2 separate regions of the Homo sapiens genome follow, and region 2 is linked to region 1. The links are contacts of gene promoters, found by promoter capture Hi-C in human tissues and cell types (Jung and others, 2019). All regions are on one chromosome and are shown on one strand. The core of a region is centred on a gene start or on the middle of the fragment in contact, and the rest is flanking DNA. Distances in the headings are between cores, read along the strand shown. Region 1 holds the start of HILPDA (hypoxia inducible lipid droplet associated). Region 2 overlaps CCDC136 (coiled-coil domain containing 136).

Region 1 (4,154 bases), core at 521-3,020:
GAGCCACCGCAACCGGCCTAAACAGGCCTTGCCCAGGCAATGAGCATCCAGTTAGACAGGTTCTTCAAGGCCTAGTAATAGTTCTCTGGTTACAACGGTGCTCAGCTTGTCTGCTAGGAATGGGACTCCCATCTGGACATGTCTAGGTCAGTGTTCCAAAATATGGCCAGTATGGAAGGAGGTCTTATCACATGCTTCTGGATGGATGGTCTGGAAGGCCCTTGGTGGGCTCTGTGTTGGCTAGTTGGCTTCTGGTGGTCCAGGAGGTCCCAGGCGATGGGCTCTCTAGTAAGCCCTCTAGGGACTCCATCACTCTAACGAAGATGGAGAGTAGGGTCAGTACCACACCTAACAGGTAGAGGTTCAACACATGCTTCATGGCTGAAAGGACCCTACTCCTCTGCAGAGAAACAGAGCTGCCTTCTCCTTCTGAAAGGCCTCTGGACCCTGAGAAAAAAGAGGAAAGGATGAATCTATAGCCTTTTGGGGATATGCATGCATCCAGCCCTGACTCTTCTGTCCTCTCACAGGGCTGAAGGAGAGGCTTAGCCAGTGAGGGACACAGGGACCAGGGAGTTGCACAGCAACTCTCCAAGAATATTTTACATTGCAAACTTCATGGCTGCGGAGCCAGTGTTGCTTCTTGGACTAATTCAAGAACACTTCTTAAAACTTTTACTTTCTTAGGCCAGGCGCGGTGGCTCATACCTGTAATCCCAGCGCTCTGGGAGGCCGAGGCGGGTGGATCACCTGAGGTCAGGAATTCGAGACCAGCCTGACCAACATGGTGAAACCCTGTCTCTACTACAAATACAAAAATTAGCCGGGCATAGTGGCACATGCCTGTAATCCCAGCTACTCGGGAGGCTGAGGCAGAATTGCTTGAACCCGGGAGGCAGAGGTTGCAGTGAGCCAAGATCGCGCCATTGCACTCCAGCCTCGGCAACAAAAGCAAAACTCCGTCTCAAAAACAAACAAACAAACATTTACTTTATTGAAAATTTTGTTCCTGCAAGGCACAATACACAACCCCTGTGCTACAGTGCAGGCATCAGTCACCTTCCTGAAATAGGCCCAGTCCTTTTGCAGGGGGGTGGTGGGTAATGGGAAATATAAGAACATGCCCTGGAGAAAGGAACCTGCCTAGAAGTCTCTCCCACATCACAGATTGGAGTTAACTACAAACTTTTTGCAAGTCCAAATAACTCTATGAGGGTCAAATCTATCAAGTTCATTTATTTAACAAACATACCATGAATATCTGCAATGTGTTAGGTACCCTGGAAGATACTAGGGCCACATTGCAAACCTTATAGACAAAGGGTAGTTAACACGCAACACGCTAAGTGTTGGGACAGCAAGGAGATCGTGAAGGTGCTCTGGGAGGGCATGGCAGGGATGCCTAACTCAGCACCTGTGGGCGTGGGATGGGCCACGTGGATCCTAGTTAGGACCACCTTAGGACAAAACAGGGCTGACGGCTGAATGGGGACCCCAGATGGGGCGTGGGCGATCAGAGAGGATCCCGGCGGCGCACCCCCAGCCCTGGAACGCGAGGCTGCTAGCGCGGCGAGCACTCTAGCGATGGGGGTGGGGAGCCGGGGAAGCCCACAGGGCCGCTCACCTCCGGGGGAACAGCCGGGAGTGGATCGCCGGCTGTAGGAGCAGGTCGTGCAGGAGTCCGGAGGAAAGTCGGTTACTAAGCACCAGCGCAGAAGCTTCCCGCCACAAAACTCACCGGAGACAAAAGCGCCGTCAGCCGCAGAGCGCAGAGCAACGCCGCCCAGCCTCCGCCCCTTATAGCCGCGAGCACGCCCCAGGAGGGTACGCGCACGCGCACTGGAGGCCGCACGCACGCCCGGGACGCACACGACGTGGCGCACGTCCGCGGCCCCACCCCGCGGGCAACGGGGTTTGGGGATTGTCCCGGGTGCTCTCCCGCGGAGCTGTTTCCAAAAGTACACGTCGTGCGGTTTTGAGTCATTGTGTTCTGGAGTGAGACGAGGCGTGTGTATTAATCTCGACTGCCATCTCTGCTGTAGAAAACATTTGAAGGAGTCAGAGAGCACATATCCCTTCTCCCCAGTAGGTGAAAAACACCGATGGCCTTCGTGTCCGTGAAGCCCCGCCGTGAAGGGTGGGTTCTTCCCCAGAGATTTCGGGTGCACTAAATTGTCAGAGGGCACCAGACCCCTACCCCACTCGTTATTTTCTTCATTTCAAGGACTGAAGAGCTGGTTTTGTTTCACTTCATAGCTGTACCAAGATTCCAAATCCCGAGTTTCAGTTGCCATCGGTATCTCTGGAATGGTGAGGCCCTTGTGCAACATATTAAGCTCTGCAAGCTCTGCTTTCTATGAGAGTTTGTCGTGTCGCTTCAGAAAACGTGAAATACTCCTGGCCCTGGTGTGGGATCCTAACTGCATATGGGCAAGTCACTTGGTATTTAAATGGGCCTCGGTTTTCTCATCTGTAATGAAGACATTGGCCACTAGATGATTTTTCTTCTTCTTCTTCTTTTTTTTTTTTAAATAGAGACAGTCTCGCTATGTTGCCCAGGCTGGTCTCGAACTCCTGATCTCAAGCCATCCTCCCACCTCTGCCTCCCAAAGTGCTGGGGCTACAGGCGTGAGCCACCGCGCCCGGCCGCTAGATGATTTTTAAGGGTGCTTTCGGCTTGAACTAAAGAGCCAGGAGGTCACAGACCAGCCTTATGTCCAGATTTGGGGGGCTAGGCTGCCTTACTAATCACCCCCGAACCCACCCAGCCAAGACTGTGCGGTCTGTCTTGAGAGCACGCAACGGGGGATCTCAGAAAGTAGAGTCCCGGAGAGACACTGGGAATGGGGAGGACCCCCGGGAAGGGGTGTACACGCCGTGGAAGGGAAGGCCGCTGGTGGCTTTAGAACTGGCGGTTCCGTGTACCCGGGTCAAGTGCCCGTGCCGGATGGGAAAGAACCCTGTGACTTTCCACATCTCAGCGAGCTCGGCGGGCTCTGCTTAAGAAGGGCTCTAAGACGGGAAGGGAGGAGCCATCCCCACTGCGACCTTTCCCCTCCTTTCCTGGCTGGCTGGCTGTGGTCTGTCGGGAATGAGGGGGTGGGGAAGCCGGGAAAGCAGAAGGTTGGGGCTGGAGGTCTGCTGGCAGGCAGGCAGACATTTGGAGCCAACTTTCCTGCTCAGCCCGCAGAACTTTTGGTCCTTCGCTATACCAGAGTTTCGTCTGTTTTTTTGCTTGACTGTGTGACCCTTCTCTCACACTGTTATTAAATAGGTCTCAAGCTGCGAAATCACTGCCAGATCCAAACGCCACTACTTTGCCAGGTGAAGGCCTTGGGCGAACCCTTTAACCTTCTTGTAGTTCTGTTTCCTCAGCTGTTCTGTGAGATCATAACAGTCTTAACCTGATATTAAATGAATTAATCCATATAAAGCGCTTAGAACAATGCCTGGCACATAAAAAACATTCTATGAATCTTAACATTATCTGTATCATCAACTACAAAACTCCCAGTGAGGGGTTTTGCTCATTAGCAGCCTAGGCTTGCTGAATGAATGCAGGAATTCTACAATGACCATTTGAGTTCTACTTAGTTTGAGTTCTAAATTTATACTTCACACAGCTGGAAGAAGGGATGGGCACCTCTCCAACAATTCTTTCTCCCCATATTCCCTGCCATTGTCTAAAGGTCATGCCAGTTGGAAATAAGAAGGGTTTGGGTGAGGGCAGCTCTATGCTTTACCATTCTGTCAGCTACAAATGTAGCTACCTGCATCAGGATTTAGTCCTGCCTTCAACACCTTGGCCAGGCTAACTGACCCCTTTGAACTTTAGTTTCCTTATCTGTAAAATGAGGAAAATAATCTGTAAAACAGGGTTGTTGTGAGGGTTGGAAATAATGCCCATAAAGAGTATGTCATATATGCTCAACAAATAGTAGCTATTATTTTGCTAAAAAGTATAAAGCCAGATTCTTGTTCTAAATAAGCTTGTCACCTGGTTGAGTAAACAAGACCTGAATAAGATAAGATAACTAACAACCCAAGGCAGTGTGGGGTAGAGTTTAGAAGTAAGTACATAAGTAGGGTGGTAATGTTTTGCTTGGGGAACTGGGATTTTAACATTCACTATGGTTATTTAAAAAAAAAAAAAA
Region 2 (4,254 bases), core at 1,069-3,568, 360 kb before region 1:
GCAGCACCTCATTAGTTTCACTGCAGTGAAGTGAACTCAGAGTCAAGAGGATGGGGAAGGGGGAATAAGGCTGAGGGGAAATGAAGAAAGTGCACCACGGAGTGCAGGTAAGTAGGAGGTTCTTAGGCAGACAAACTTTGACAGAGAATGACATTGGTTCAAGGAAATTTAAGGAAACCTGTCACTGGGCCTAGGTCATTAGAACACTCCTAATCACCAGGTATGTTGACTGACTTCCTGGTGCATGTGCTAGAGTATGCTGAGGCTTCCAGACACTGCCGGCCACTAGGGAACCCTGCTGATTCATGGGACAAGTGGCACCATCGAAGATATCCAAAAAGCATCCATTAGGTAATATGAAAATCTTAGACAAGAAAATACATACTTGGGGAAATAGGTTTTATTTTTATTACTTTTTTACTCTACTAACTGAAAGGTAGAATTTGGATTTTGAGTCATAAGCTATGGCATAGGTAACAGAAGGATGGTTTCAAGTAAAAATGGAATATAGCCCATTAATGCTAAGAACACATTTTCTCAGATGATAATTGATCTAAAAAGAGGACTTTAAGCCTGCTAAAGAGCAAAGAAAATCTCCTGAGCTTATAGAAATAGCTACTAAGAACAACAGAAGGTATGAAATGGAAAGCCAAGCAATGTTACAGGTGGATATACAGAGTAACTCATGTAAGAAAACCAAGAGATCCGGAGGCTGAGGGAGGAGGATCGCTTGAGACCGGGAGTTCAAAGTTACAGTGAGCCATGATCATGCCGCTGCACTCTAGCCTCGGTGACAGAGCGAGACCCTGTCTCTAAAACCAAAAACAAAAACTAAGAAGGGAGCTAGCTAGAAAAAAATATTTATATGCTCAGATGCCTCTATCCTAATGTGCATTGCTAAGAATGTTAGTCTGGTGTTCTTAAAGGAGGGAGGAGCTGAAATCCTTAAATGTGACCCGTGCACCTCACACTGGGCAAAGGCAAGCTTCTACATGGGATGGGGAAAGGGCTGGTGTGGGTGTCCCAAAGGGGAAGTCGTGTCAAACTCTCCTTTTAAACTAGGTGACCTAAGTGACAAATCACCGGAATCATGTTTTTGGACGTTGAGTTGTTTGACAGAATTTTCTATGATCTTTGCAGATAATATGCAGAAATAAGGGTAGGATGACAGTACAGTTTGTTGAATGGCAGGTAAGTGACCAATGAGCTGAATAAAAGAACCCCAAGAGACGACACTCTAGAGGCTCTGTCCTCACTCTGTCCTCTGTAGATGAAGACAGGGAAGGAGGGCTTGCCACCCCTGTAGATGATGTGAAGGTGGCAGAGGAAGTGAATATTTTAAAACCACAGGGTCAAGATTAAAAACACATACACACAAAACCTTATAAGGTAAGAACAATGAACTATAATAGGGAAGAATGGAAAATTCTGCCTTTGAAGCCTCAAAATCAAATGCAGGTACAGAATGGGGAGAGGACGCTTAGCATACACAATCTGCAGAGGGGCTTATAAAAAATACATGAAATAAATAAATAATATATTAGTTACCTAAAGAGCTAATGTGATCTGAGGTTGCCTAAACACAAGTATGGTGTCTTCCTACTTGGGACCAATGAAGAGAAACTGCTCAAAATGAGGAGAGACAATAAAGGGAAGCAAGACTGGAATCTTATTTGTTGCTAATATTGAGTCCTTATAATCTGACTCGCAGCTTCCTGGCTGTTTTACTTAACTTCTCTATGCCTTAGTTTAATCATATATAAAAAAAAATAGGAGTAGCTTCTTCATGGGGTTGTTGCAAGGATTAAATCAGTTAATATACGTAAGTGATTAGAACAGTGCCTGACACATAAGACTGCATTTTGTAAGTGCGTGCTCTTTTTATTAATGATGGGGTATTTTATAATTTATAGAATACTTTCATCTACTTCAACCCATCTGGTCCTGACAAAAACCTGTGAGGAGGGCAGAGGTTCGATCATCCTTTGCTTACATTTGAAGAAACTAGAGCTCAGAGTGTGCATTTTGCTCCCTGGGACAACGCCTGTCAGTAGAGACAGACTCAACCAAGTTCTTCTGACCGCCTGGCAGCCACGCTTTCTACCACACTGTGCTCCCTCAGGTCCTGGCTGCACAGGTGCATGTTGGGGCCTCCTGGAGCTCTGGGGATAACAGGCCCCACCAGGAGAACCCTTCACCAGCAGTTCTTCCTCTCCCTCTGATTGGGCCGGGCTGGGTCTGAGGTAGTGGAAGGCTGTGGCTGAACTCTTTGGGTTTCACCCGTAGTGCCTTAAGACTTCTGGGGGGTGACAGGGGAGAAACAGTCATAGAGAGGGGCCCCGTCACTAAAGCAGTTGTGGACCAGGGAGTAAAGGGAATACCTAAAGTCAAGAAGAAAAGTGGAGGCTTGAAGATGAGTAACAGGAAAGCTGGGGAGGGAGCAGGAGGAAGGACAGAAAAGGAAATGGAGAGAAGTGCCACCAACAAATCCTCCAGTTGCCACCCTGTGCATTAAGCTACATTCCGTTCACAGGAATGTGAGAAGAGAGGGGAGTGGAGGGGGAGGCAGGGAAAGCATGAGAGAGGAGCCAATGCAGGACTAGAGAGAATACCTTATGGGTTCCAGAAGGCAGGTGGAACCCCAGGCTTCTACCTTAGGCCGTAAGACCACATTCTGCCTCCTGAATTTGGTATCCTGTTGACAGTGTACATTACATGTGTGGGAGCTGACAGGAAAGTGGCCAGAATATATCAGTCTTGATTTCCTGAGAACACACATCTCTGGCTAGTAGAAACTTTTCACTAATACCTCATTCTCTCCAGAAAACCTAGCTGGGGAAGCCAATTACCATGGAATCTGGCCCACAAAATAGATAAATAGATAACTAATAAAATTTCCCGGCATTCTGTTCTGACTTTTCCGGAGACTGGAAGTCCAGAAGCAGAGAACTGTTCAGTAGAAAGAGCAGAATACAGTAGGGGTTCGGTTCCATTTCACCAAGCTTGATGGACCAGCTTAGGTTGCCCTCCTACCAATGCCCCTGGGAGGATCATGAGGATCAGAGCTCTTCAGAGCTCCTCTCTCTCCCAACAGAAGAGGGATTCCTTATTTTGCCATCTTGGGTAGCAACAGTAGTGAGAACTTGGCTCCGGAGTTAAACCAAGACAAAGAGAGTCCAGGCCAGCCTTGCAAATATCAGCTCATCAGAAGTGGTCAGGCTAGCCATCACACAGAGGATGAGCGGGGATAAAGAAGTAGTGAGGCAGCTTTGACAGCAGCAACCAAGCTGGGCTTATCCAAGTTTTTCCCAGCCAAGGATTGAAACAAACCATGTCTCTGGCAAGCATTCCAACCTCCTATGCATTACGAAGACATGCTCAGAGATGTCAGAGGCTTTGCAGTAGCCCAAGGAAAAGTCAGAACTAAAACTCAGACCTGAGCATCACCTATTATAAAATGGCACAAGCAAGAAGCAAGCAGCTGGGAGAAAAGGGAAAGAGGAGAGGCCAGGGCAACCTGCACCCTCCCTCTATCCCTCAGAAGGAGAGGAAGCAATACCAGTACCTGCATTAGGACGACGTCTCAGCCCACCAGCACCAGAGCAAAGCCGAGATGACCACCAGGCCTACAAGAGGCAAGGAGAAGATGGGGGGATTGGGGGTAGGGGATGACTGCAACACACCAAAATGAGAAAGAAGCACGAGGAGAGACCAGGAGATGTGAGACATAAACGCATGGATCCAACAGATAATGAAGATGAGAAAACAAAGGGAAAAGAGAAAGGAATCAAGAGGTTAAAAAACAGGTAAGCTAGAGCAGTTGCATGTCTTTTCTGCTGCCTGGGCCTTGGTTCTTTCCACCGGCAGTCTGCAGGAATTGCAAAATTGAATGGGTTAAGCAGCAGCTAGGTCCAAGTCAGGCGGTGAGTCCAGTTTTCTTTCTGTCTCGTCACATACCTCTCATATCCTGTCAAGCAGGAGGTATCTGCATCTAGACCTTTCTTGTGACTTTTCCTAGGTCACTCTAGGAAGAGCCAGTCTTCTACCAGGTCACCTGTCCCTTTGTTCTAGCCTGCTTTCCATTAAGTTTCTTAGTATTTTGGGCTCTGGTCCCTTAGATCCCCTAGGAATCTAATGATATCATTGTAAGACAACATGCACCGAAACAAACTGACAATGGAGAAGGGCTAGTTCTTTCACTGCAACAATCTTCCAGAGAGAAACCGATTTTGCAAGGTGGTAATACACATGCCC

Evidence for each region. Contacts are between HindIII fragments. The study calls those that stand out against the background at their distance.
Region 2: a contact is called between a fragment that was not itself captured here and the fragment with the promoter of HILPDA in region 1, in 1 of the 25 tissues and cell types used here (hippocampus).

Annotation. Positions count from the first base shown.
Region 1 is chr7:128,453,494-128,457,647 of GRCh38, reverse strand. It overlaps HILPDA (hypoxia inducible lipid droplet associated), which reads right to left and starts at 1,770. Exons shown (of 2, transcript NM_013332.4): 1 at 1,625-1,770; 2 at 1-447. The coding sequence starts at 379. The coding sequence ends at 188. It also overlaps the pseudogene EFCAB3P1. RefSeq lists a silencer at 1,718-1,857 and enhancers at 1,958-2,127, 3,036-3,742. The HindIII fragment of the contact is 5,129 bases long and covers 1-4,154 here.
Region 2 is chr7:128,817,176-128,821,429 of GRCh38, reverse strand. CCDC136 (coiled-coil domain containing 136) reads right to left here. Exons shown (of 18, transcript NM_022742.5): 17 at 3,566-3,672. The coding sequence ends at 3,571. Among named protein-coding and RNA genes, the nearest start is that of FLNC, 11 kb to the left of the region's middle. The HindIII fragment of the contact is 4,770 bases long and covers 1-4,254 here.